Regions from separate parts of the Homo sapiens genome. Here region 2 is linked to region 1. Evidence: promoter capture Hi-C in 16 types of primary human blood cells and fetal thymus (Javierre and others, 2016). All regions are on one chromosome and are shown on one strand. Each heading gives the region's core, a stretch centred on a gene start or on the middle of the fragment in contact. The rest is flanking DNA. Distances are from core to core; before and after follow the strand shown.

Region 1 (6,071 bases), core at 2,507-5,006:
CAGTACAGTAGTAGCAGAATAAGAATACTTGGCCAAGCATGGTGGCTCACGCCTGTAATCCCAGCACTTTGGGAGGCCGAGGTGGATGGATCACGAGGTCAGGAGTTCCAAACCAGCCTAACCAATATGGTGAAACCCCTCCTTTACTAAAAATACAAAAATTAGCCAGGCGTGGTGGCGCAAGCCTGTAATCCCAGCTACTCAGGAGGCTGAGGCAGGAGAATCGCTTGAACCCGGGAGGCGGAGGTTGCAGCAAGCCGAGATTGCGCCACTGTACTCCAGCCTGGGAGACAGAGCGAGACTCCATCTCAAAAAAAAAAAAACACTTGACCTGTGTCAGCCCTGATGTGGTATCTGCAGTGCTGTTTCACAAATTTCAAACAACGACATGTTAACAGTTACTTCCACTGCAGTGGAACAAGTAGCATTTTAAAAAGCCAATAAAAAACTGTAACATTCTTTGCTGTATTAGTAACAATATATGCCATCTGGACAACCCTGATGTGAGAATGACTTTGCAAAGAAATGGCCACATTTTAGAATATTTCTCACAGAAGCTCTGCAAATCAAATATTATTACAACCAGTTTAGAATTATCTTAGAATGAGTCAATTAACCACATCTTCAATATTACCCAATTAGACAGCTGCTGAGGCAGGGTATGAATGCAGGCCTATTTGTCTTCAAAACCCAAACACCCAGTGAGTACATTTTTGAACACATACCTTAAATTTTAATTGTTTTTAAGCCCCTTATTCCCTAGTTTTACCAGGATTTAGCCTAGAACCCTATTGGGCACTACAGAGAGTGGACAAATGAAGCATTCTAATCAAATATGCTGTGCGTGGTAGCTCATGCTTGTAATCCCAGCACTTTGGGAGACCAAGGTCGGGGGAATCACATGAGGTCAGGAGTTCAAGACCAGCCTGGCCAAAATGGCGAAACCCTGTCTCTACTAAAACTACAAAAATCAGCCGGGCATGGTGGCGCACAGCTGTAGTCCCAGCTACTCAGGAGGCTGAGGCAGGAGAATTGTGTGAACTCAGGAGGCAGAGGTTGCAGTAAGCCGAAATCACACCACTGCACTCCAGCCTGGGCAACAGAGCCAGACTCTGTCTCAAAATAAATAAAATAAATAAATAATCAAATATGTTATCTTTGAGCTCCTTTTCCTAAGGCCTATGTCTTGGGCAACGATGCTTCCCTTATAGCCCTTACCTCCTTCGTTTCATGTTTATTTAGGTGACATTTATCCTGACCCTACTACATGAAGTCACAAGGAATAAGGCATAGAAAAATAAAAAAGAAAAATCCTGAAGCAAATGAATGTTATAATATTTTGGGTAAGACATTAAACAAAATACATCAGGTAGAGATACATGCTATATAAAAAATGTAGCACATTATAGGGATAAGGAGACACGTAACATATTTATCTTTAGCAAGTCAGGACAGGTAATGTGGCAGGGTAGAAGCAGAAAATTAAAATAACTATTTCAGATCATGCTGGAATTTCAGAGGGTTTAGTATATCTATTATATATTTATAAGCATTATCAACTCCTAGAGGAAAAAAAATCAGTACTGGCCAGGCACGGTGGCTCACACCTGTAATCCCAGCACTTTGGGAGGCCAAGGTGGGTGGATCACAAGGTCAGGAGTTCAAGACCAGCCTGGCCAAGATGGTGAAACCCACCTCTACTAAAAATACAAAAAAATTAGCTGGGCATGGTGGCAGGTGCCTGTAATCGCCACTACTTGGGAGGCTGAGGCAGAGAATTGTTTGAACCCAGGAGGCAGAGGTTGCAGTGAGCCAAGATCACGCCACTGCACTCCAGCCTGGGAGACACAGCGAGACTCTGTCTCAAAAAAAAAAAAAAAAATCGGTATTAATAGGCTAGACTATTGATATATAAAGTTGAATAAAGACCAGCATAAAAGTTTAGAAAGAAAATAGAAAATAATCTTTTTTAAAACATAGTAAACAAAATCAGAAAAGCTAAAAAAGCATCCTTTGCAAAAAGAAAAACTAATGAAACTGACAAACTCAGCTTTTTAAAAAAATTTTTTAATTTAATTTATTGTTTAAGACAGACTCTTTATGTTCCCAGGTTGATCTCATTTCCTAGGCTCAAGCGATCCATCTGCCTTAGCTTCCCACCAGCTGGGACTACAGATATGCGCCACTGCAGCCAGCAACAGACTCAGCAATTTTAAGAGCAACAGGGCATAAACAACAACAACAAAAAAAAAATGAACAAGAATTAATCATAATTACAGATATCATAAGGAGAATATAGAAAAAATTTAAGGAATAAATATGAAGATGCACAGGTAATTAATGAATTTCTAGAAAGTAGTACAACTTTCAAGCAGTGATCTAAAACCTGATTACACCCAGTAATTAAAGAAAAAAAAATCAGCGGTTTAAAACACGGTCAGGCCGGGTGCAGTGGCTCATGCCTGTAATTCCAGCACTTTGGGAGGCGGAGAGCCCATGAGTTCGAGACCTGCCCGGGCAACAGAGCGAGACTCCTATTTTCTAAAAAGAAATAGGAATAAAGAAAGGAAAAAAACCTACAAACACCTACAGCAAACATCCTATTTAATGGTGAAATGATAGAATAATTCCCTCTGGAATCAGAAACAAGACAGGATGTAAATTACATGCTATTCTGTCGGACATTGTACTGGAGGTCCTGGCAAGTGCAGTAAAGAAATGAAAAGAAATGGAAACTGCAAGGAATAAAAAGGGAAAAGATTGAAACTGACAGATGACCAAATTTTCTGTGTGAAATTTAACCAATCTATAGACAAATGATTCAAATGCATCATTAATGACAAAATGCATCAGTTCACTTTCACTTGAATATAATGTATCAAACTGATGTCCACAGGCAGAATATAATATCCAGAGACCAAATACTATCTTTTTGTTTTTTTGAGACAGTGTCTCGCTCTGTTGCCCAGGCTGGAGTGCAGTGATGCGATCTCAGCTCACTGCAACCTCTGCCTCCCGAGTAGCTGGGAACACAGGAGAGCACCTTTTATTTTACTTTTTTTTTTTTTTTTTTTTTTGGTAGAGACGGGATCTTGCTATGTTGCCCAGGCTGGCCTCAAACTCCTGGGCTCAAGCGATCCGCCCGCCTCGGCCGCCCAAAGTGCTGGGATTACAGGCGTGAACCACCGCGCTTGGCCCAAACACTACCTAATGCATAAAGAGGGGACAGGAGGGGACCGAGCCGAGGCAAATGTCACCCCGTGCTCACCCGACACGCCGCGATCCACAGATCAGCTCACAGAGAACGAGGCTGAAGCGCTTGTCCTTGAGACACGAATGGCAGAGATGCTCTTCCTTTCTGGAAAGAGAGCAAAGGATGCTTTCGGAGGCTGATGAACTACGACATTGGTTCTCCAACTCTCGCCTGCATCAGAATCACCCCGATTTCTGTACCCAGACCAGAGTTCCCGATTCAGTGAGTTTGGGACCAGCCGCGGCCACAGGGGCAGCTGACCCGGGCTCTCTGAGGAGGCGCCGCGGCGGCGGGAGGCCCCGGGCGCGGGGTCCGGACAAGGAGTGGCGGGGAGGCAGCCCTTAGACCGCCGATTCCCAAACCCAGCCCTCGGTCTCCCGCGGACCCGACCCGGGGCAGGCAGGGCGGGGCGGGGCAGGGCAGGACAGGAAGCGGGCGGAGGCAAAAATGTTCCTCAGACGCGGGCGGAGGCGTAGGGTGACAAGGCTGTCGACTCGCGCATGCGCAGAAGCACACTTCTGATTCCTCTTTCGGCGCTGCAAATGGCGTATGGGGCGGGGCCTGGGAAGCGGGACTTGAGGTGAAGGGGGTGGAGCAGGTAGGAGCGGGATGCAAAGGAGCGCCAAGGCTGGTTCCAGCCGCAAGTGGATGAGAAATCCTAGTTTCTTCATGATTTGGAGTAAACAGAGAAGAAACAGAACCCTGAACTGGACTTGCATGACTCGGCCTGAGGGGCGGAACTGGGGCTAGACCTAGGGGCGTGGCCTTTTAAATACTCCAAGGGGCGGGGCTAAAGGTGGAACCAGATTGGGAGCGGGGCTTGGTAGAAATTCCTAGGGGGCGGAGACGAGGGCTGGGCGGGGCTTAAGTGACAAGGCCTAGGGATGGGGCTAAGGCTAGGGCTTCCCATCCAGGTTCTCAGCTACCACGGATACAGGATGCTCATCGATCGGGTTTCTACCTATCCTCCACGTTGCTACAGTCCTGTACACAGGACACATATATTTGCAGCTCTAATAGGAAACAGACTCTCCTTGACACTCACTCAGTCCTTTTGGGCCTTTTAGTTTTCCCTTTCATTGTTGTATTGATAACTTCTCCTGTAGAGGGAAGCCATTGATAATTATTTAAATAGAACCTTTTTCCTGGAAACTTGCTGAATTCTGATAGCTGTCAGTTTATTATTTGAACCATCAAATATAAATATTTTCTCTGCATATTTTCATTGTTTTAATGTGTATAACTCATTTCTTTATGTGAGGCAATGTCTCATTCTATCGCCTAGACTGGAGTGCAGTGGCGCGACCATGGCTCACTGCAGCCTTGACTTCCCCAGCTCAAGTGATGGTCCCATCTCAGCCCCCCAAGTAGCTGAGAATACAGTCGCGTACCACCCCACCCAGCTATTTTCTTTATTTTTTTGTAGAGATGGGATCGCACTATGTTGCTGAAGCTGGTCTCAAACTCCTGAGCTCAAGCTATCCTCTCACCTCAGCCTCCCAGAGTGCTAGGGGTACAGGTGTAAGCCACCACACCCAGAGTCATTTCTTTTTCTTATTGTTTGTTTAGGGCTTCCTCAACTATAAGTCGGAAAGAAATTAAGCATTCTTGTCTTGGTCGGTAATGATTACCAAAGTTCCTCAGTAAGCTGTTTACAACAGGTTGCACCTCTTATCAAGTTAATCTTTTTAAACCAGGTTTATAAAGATATTTTATCAATAATTTTTTATGAACACTATCAAATGTTTATGCAACAATTGAGTTGATAACATAATTTTGCTCCTCTTAGTTTATAATATGATATCCATATAAAATATTTAATTTTAGGCAAGGCGCAGTGGCTCATGCCTGTAATCCCAGCACTTTGGGAGGCCGAGGCCGGTGGATTACCTGAGGTCAGGTGTTCAAGACCAGCCTGGCTACCATGGTGAAACCCCATCTCTACTAAAAATACAAAAAATTAGCTGGGCATGGTGGCGGGTGCCTGTAATCCCAGCTACTCAGGAGGCTGAGGCAAGGAGAATCGCTTGAACCTGGGAGGCAGAGGTTGCAGTGAGCTGAGATCGCGCCATTGCACTCCAGCCTGGGCGACAATAGAAAGACTCCATCTCAAAAATATATATATTCAATTTTATATATCCCCAATGAATCTATACTTTTAGTAAAATGGTTTCTGAGTTTCCTAGTTTGCTTTTAAATGTCTCCCCAAACTCTAAAATATAAAAATACTTCCTAATTTACTTCCAAATTGTACTGCTTTTTAAAACGTATAATTCTTTACTGCTCAGGGAATGTATTTTGGTATAATATGAGGTAGAGATGTGTTATATAAGTGAACCACAGGTGGCCTTTCTGTATTGGTCCCTAGGTTGTTCATTACTTCTTCACTGCGGCTTGAGGTCACCTTCCCAATGCCTGTCCCTGGTGCCCTAGCCAGCTCCCTTTCATCATCTATGTTTTTTAAGTGTAAATCTTTTTCTATTATGAAGCATTATGTTCTCATTGTAGTTTTTTATTTTAAAGGAAAAGTATAAGGAAAAGACAAACAACATTCAGAATCCCAGCAGTGTTTGAATTTTCTGTATTTCCTTTCTGCCTTCTTTGTACGCGTGGGTGGCAAGCCACCCAGGTGCCAAGGCAAGAGACCGAGGGCACAAGCTGTTCCAGTATAATAAAGAAAATATATAGAATAAGAGTAGTTATACTAGAAATAGATTATAGATATGATTGTATATATCATTAATCATTTGTAGCATTACTCTTTATTCCAATATTATAATAATCTTTGTTCTACAATCATAACCTAGGAAAAACCAGG
Region 2 (6,071 bases), core at 2,425-4,924, 200 kb after region 1:
AGTCCAAGAACAAGGCACAAGCAGATTCAATGTCTCAGGAGGGCCTGCTTCCTGGTTCATACGATTGTCTTCTCACTGTGTCTTCACATAGTGCAAAAGGAAAGGCAGCTATCTGGGCCTCTCATTTTAAAATTACTTTGTTTTTTGATATGTTTTGAGAAAGGATCTTGCTCTCTTGGGCAGGCTGGAGTAGAGTGGCAAAATCACAGCTTACTGCAGCCTCAACCAACTGGGCTCAAGCAATCCTCTCACCTCAATCTCCAGAGTAGCTGGGACTACAGGCACATGCCACCATACCCAGTTAATTTTTTAGAAAATTTTTTGTAGAGACAGGGGTTCACTATGTTGCCTGACTGGTCATGAACTCGCAGCCTCAAGTGATCCTCCTGCATCAGCCTCCCAACGTGCTAGAATTACAGGCATGAGTCATTGTGCCCAACCTAATTGCTTTAATTGACAAATTTTCATTGTACATATTAATGGAGTATAAAGTGATATTATAATTTATGAATATAATACAGAATAATTAAACGAAGCTAATTAACATATCCACCACCTCAAGTACTTATTATATTTTGTGGTAAAAACAGGTGCCTTGTAATTTGTTCTTGATCTCCTGTTTTTTAAGTGTGTGTTAATTCACACATATTTATGTATTTTAATGTTTTTCTGCCATTATAGATTTCTAGCTTAATTCTGTTGTGTTCTGACAGGTACTTTATATATATTCAGTGCTTTTAAATTTACTGAGACTCTGCTGGGTGCGGTGGCTCACACCTGTAATCCCAGCATTTTGGGAGGCCAAGAGTGGATGGATCATTTGAGGTCAGGAGTTGGAGACCAGCCTTGCCAACATGGTGAAACTCTGCTTCTACTAAAAATACAAAAGTTAGCCAGGTGTGGTGGCATATGCCTGTAATCCCAGCTACTTGGGAGGCTGAGGCAGGAGAGTCACTTAAACCTGGGAGATGGAGGTTGCAGTAAGCCGAAATTGCACCCCTGCCCTCCAGCCTGGGCAACAGAACAAGACTCTGTCTCAAAAAAAATAAAAATTAAAAAAAATAAATTTCCTGAGACTCATTCTGTGGCATATACATTTGACATATCCTGAAGATGTTCCATGTGAACTTAAGAATGTGTGTTCTCATGATATCAGATGGACTGTTCTACATGTCTCTGAGGCTTAGTTGGCTTACCGTATTTTTCAAGCTATGTCCTTACTGATCTTCTATGTAGATGTCCTTTTATTAAAAGTGTCATATATAACTCTCCAATTATTGCTATAGAACAATCTATTTCTCCCTTAAGTTTTGTCATATAACTTTGGGGTCTGTTTTTGGTGCATGCATGTTTATGATTGCTACATCTTCTTTTTCTAATTTTTAATTTTTTTAAGAGACAGAGTCTCGGCTGGGCACAGTGGCTCATTCCTGTAATCCCAGCACTCTGGGAGGCCAAGGAGGGTGGATCACAAGGTCAAGAGATTGAGACCATCCTGGCCAACATAGTGAAAGCCCATCTCTACTAAAAGTACAAAAATCAGCTGGGTGTGGTGGCACACACCTGTAGTCCCAGCTACTCAGGAGGCTGAAGCAGGGGAATCGCTTGAACCTGGGAGGTGGAGGTTGCTGTGAGCCAAGATTGCATCACTGCACTCCAGCCAGGCGACATAGTGAGCCTTTGTCTCAAAAAAATAAATAAATAAATAAATAAAAGACAGAGTCTCATTATGTTGCTTACACTGAACTTAAACTCCTAGGCTCAAGCAATCCTCCTGCCTCAGCATCCCAAGTTGCTAGAATTAAAGGCATATACCATCATGCATGGCTTATTACATCTCTTGATGAATTGAAGCTTTTATCAATATATTGCCATCCTTTGTATATTATAAAGTCTTTTACTTAAAGTTCGTTTGTCTGATATCATTATAGTCAATCCAATTATCTTTTGGTTGCTATTTGCATGGAATATCTTCTTCCCATCCTTTCACTAACAGCCTATCTGTTGCTTTTTATATAAAGTGAATTTCTTGTAGACAGAATACGATTTGATCATGGTCTTTATTATTTCATCCATTCTTCAACAGCATGACTTTTTCTTGGAGTGTTTGATTCATTTACATTTAAAGTAAAAATAAAGAAGGATTTTCTTCCTGCCATTTTGCTATATGTGTTCTGAATGTCTTATACTTTTAGCTCCTTATTTCCTCCACTGCTGATTTTTTTGTGTTTACTTGATTTTTAGAGTGAATCATTTAACTCTCTTCTAATTTTCATTGATTTTGTTTTGTTTTGTTTTGTTTTTCAGACAGTCTTGCTGTGTCGTCCAGGCTAGAGTGCAGTGGCACAATCTTGCCTCCCAGGTTCAAGTGATTCTCATGTCTCAGCCTCCTGTGTAGCTGGGACTACAGGCTTGTGCCACTATACCTGGCTAATTTTTGTATTTTTAGTAGAGACAGGGTTTCACCATGTTGGCCAGGCTGATCTTTAACTCCTGACCTCATGTGATCTGCCCACCTCACCCTCCCAATGTGCTGAGATTACAGGTGTTAGCCACCACACCAGGCTTTCATTCATATTTACTTTCTTTCTTTCTTTCTTTCTTTCTTTTTGAGATGGAGTCTTCTTGCTCTGTTGCCCAGGCTGGAGTGCAGTGGTGTGATCTCAGCTCACTGCAACCACCACCTCCTGGGTTCAGGTGATTCTCCTGCCTAAGCCTCCCAAGTAACTGGGATTACAGGTACGCACCACCACGCCTGGGTGATTTTTGTATTTTTAGTAGAGACAGGGTTTCACCATGTTGGCCACGCTGGTCTCGAACTCCTGACTTCAGGTGATCTGCCTGCCTCAGCCTCCCAAAGTGTTGGGATTACAGGAGTGAGCCACTGCACCCAGCCAAAACTTTAACAGCCCTCATAAGGATTACATTTACCATTCCAAAGTTATATTATTTGAATTTGTACCTACTTAACTTCAATAGCATACAAAAATTCTGCTATACGACTGCACGCTTCTGTTGTTTTTTTTTTTTTTGCAAAATATATCTTTATATATTGTATGCCTAAAACATACACTTATAATTTTTATTGATTTTTAAAAAATTCAGTAAAAAGTAAAAACTGGAATTAGATACAAAAATACCATAAATGTGGTTTTATATTTTCCAATATACTTACCTTTACTAGAGATCTTTATTTCTCCACACAGCTTGAGTTACTGTCTAGCATCCTTTTATTCCATCCTGAAGAACTCCTTTTAGCATCTCTTTTATGTTTATTTGTTTATTTATTTATTTATTTGAGACAGAGTCTCACTCTGTTGCCCAGGCTGGAGTGCAGTGGCACGATCTTGGCTCACCAAAACATCTGCCTCCCGGGTTCAAGCAATTTTCCTGCCTCAGCCTCCCAAGTAGCTGGCAGTACAGGCATGCACCACTGTACCTGGCTAGTTTTTGTATTTTTAGTAGAGACGGGGTTTCACTATGTTGGCCAGGCTGGTCTCAAACTCCTGACCTCGTGATCCACCTGCCTCAGCCTCCCAAAGTGCTGGGATTAAAGGCATGAGCTACCACGTCCAGCAGCATTTCTTGTATGGCAAGTGTAGTGGTAACTGTCCTTGGCATTAGTTTTTCTAGGAATGTCTTAAATTCTCCCTCATTTTTGAACATTTCTGGTGAGCACAGAATTCTTGGTTGATAGTGTTTCTTTTTCAGCTCTTAAATATGTCATCTCACCGACTATGTCCCCCATGATTTCTGATGACATATTTGTTATTAATAGTATTGAGAATCACTTCTTTCAGCACTCTTTGTCTTTGCCATTTGACATTTTGATGATATGTGATTCACTGTAGGCCTGAGTTTCTCTTTTTTTAATGTTTTTTTTTTTTGAGATGAAGTTTTGCTCTTGTTGCCCAGGCTGGAGTGCAATGGTGCAATCCCAGCTTACTGCAACCTCTGCCTCCCAAGTTCAAGGGATTCTTGTGCCTCAACCTCCCGAGTAGCTGAGAATACAGGCACCTGCCACCACGCCCGACTGAGTTTCTCTTACTTGGAGTTTGTTGAGCTTCTTGGATTTAAAGATTCATGTCTTTCATCAAATTTGGAAAGTTTTGCTTAATATTTCTTCACATTTTACTTCTTCCCCTTTATTTCTCTGTTATCTTTCTTCAGCTTCCATAATGTGTATGTTGGTCTGATGCATGGTGTACTACAGGTCCTTTAAGTTCTGTTTGGTCTTCATTCTTTTTCCTTTAGTCCCCTCAGAGTTGATATTTTTCAAAGGTTCTATCTTCAAATTTGTGGATTCTTTCTTCTGCATGCTCACATCTTCTATGGAAGAGAAGATGCAACCAGTGACCAAAGAACTAATGTTAGGAGTTTGGCTTTACAAAGAAAATAGCTCCATGTTATCTTATTTAGAATTGGTAGGTATTTTATTTAGAAAGTATTTTGAAAAGAAAGTAAAAAAGGATATAATCTAGAAAGAAAAGTACAGAAAACTTTACAAAGAACACTAAATAAAAACGTTTAAAAGGAATTAAAACAGTTCCTTCTCTGAGAATAAATGAAAATGTGAATAAATGGATAGACAATGAAAAGGTGGAAAATCTCATGTAATAGTGTTTTTTATCTTCTGCCACAGACCCCAGAGGACTGAGCAAAGGAGGATGAACACAGGAATAAAGACAAAGATAAAAAGATCTGTTTTAAAAGAAGGGGTCAGGGGGCTCCTTGCTTCTAGTGAACAAGGGCCCTGAGCTTCTAGAGCCCTTTGTATTTATTGAGTAAAGGAAATAGGGAGGAGCAGGTGATCATGAGCCAGTTGCATGATTTAGTGCAGGCCTGCATGTCTGCTTTCCTTGAACAGTAGGCTCCAGATATTCCAGTAGATAACCTCAAGGTGCACAGTGCCAGGGAGTGATTGCCCTCAGCCTACCTTCTGGTGGCAGGCACAGATGTGAGTTTGCCCACATCCTGCATTCATGATAAACAGTTTGCTGTTTGATCATATAGCCTCCAATGGAATGCTGAGTTGGTCATGACCCTCAGGTTTTCAGCTCCCAATATCTCCCCCTTTCTGTTTTTGCATTAATTGAATGAATGTAAGGCCAGGTTGGGCAGCTCTCATTTTCTGATTGGCAGTCCATCCAATTTTATAGACTATGAACAGAAAACAAAGACAGAACAGCATTATTCCCAGAACTATACATGAGATGTTAATGTGGCGCTTTAGATAGGTCCAAGGATTGAGGCTCTCCAGACCTCACTGGAATTTGGTCCAGGCTTCTAAAGAAGGCTGAAACTCTTGAGTTTGCTTATTTAAACCAATAATTTTGTTTCATAATTCACCAATATCAAAGGCGATATTGGATGTGAAAGCTCCCTGCAAATGGGCTTTCACAAGGTCCCATGGATACTCACTTTGGTTATATTCTAAGTTGGTTACACAAATATGAGTGTGATTAAAATGACAGCACAATTGCTGTTGCAATTGTAAGCTTTGTACTTGTTGCCCTAACCATGGAACCATGGATTTCAACATTGCCACTTCAGTTTGTAACTCAGTGTTAATTTTACTCTGAAGTAGCCATATTTTCTTGGTGGTACATGTCTAGTTCTCCACGTACTGAGCTGTTTGAACAGAACTATGCAAAGCTACAGAGGACATTACTACAGAAGTTATTAGTGTGACCAAGGAAATAATAGCAAAAATTATCATGCCTAAGACTTTACGGGTACAATGAGTAAGCTGAGTTAGAAGTTTCATGAAGTGCAAAGCAGGGGTGGAGGCCCAAGGCTCTGACAGATTAACAGGAATCCATATCCCAGGGATGCGACCCATAATTATCAAGGTAGAGATGTGTTTGCAATGTGCTATGATTAATGCAGTGATATAACTGACAAGATTTACAGGTCAATTGGGTATTGTTTACCTGGAGCTGGTCCTTCTTAGCTGCCATAAAGACATAAGGATTAAAAACACAAACCGTAAATTTAGTGGTGATACTCTTTACAAATGTAACATCAAAACTGTGTCGAGTAGCAGTACTAGTATTAGAGAGTACCCCTAC

What was found. Contacts are between HindIII fragments. The CHiCAGO score rates a contact against its expected background, and 5 or more counts as called.
Region 2: a contact is called between a fragment that was not itself captured here and the fragment with the promoter of ZNF699 in region 1, in 1 of 17 cell types (total CD4 T cells). The highest score is 5.4, in total CD4 T cells.

Annotation. Positions count from the first base shown.
Region 1 is chr19:9,306,082-9,312,152 of GRCh38, forward strand. It overlaps ZNF699 (zinc finger protein 699), which reads right to left and starts at 3,757. Exons shown (of 6, transcript NM_198535.3): 1 at 3,269-3,757. RefSeq lists silencers at 3,427-3,676, 6,032-6,071 and an enhancer at 3,737-3,856. The HindIII fragment of the contact is 15,955 bases long and covers 1-6,071 here.
Region 2 is chr19:9,503,397-9,509,467 of GRCh38, forward strand. It overlaps LOC105372268 (a long non-coding RNA gene), which reads right to left. Exons shown (of 3, transcript XR_001753862.2): 3 at 4,412-6,071. It also overlaps a transcript of ZNF560 not described here. Among named protein-coding and RNA genes, the nearest start is that of ZNF560, 7.8 kb to the left of the region's middle. The HindIII fragment of the contact is 3,644 bases long and covers 1,853-5,496 here.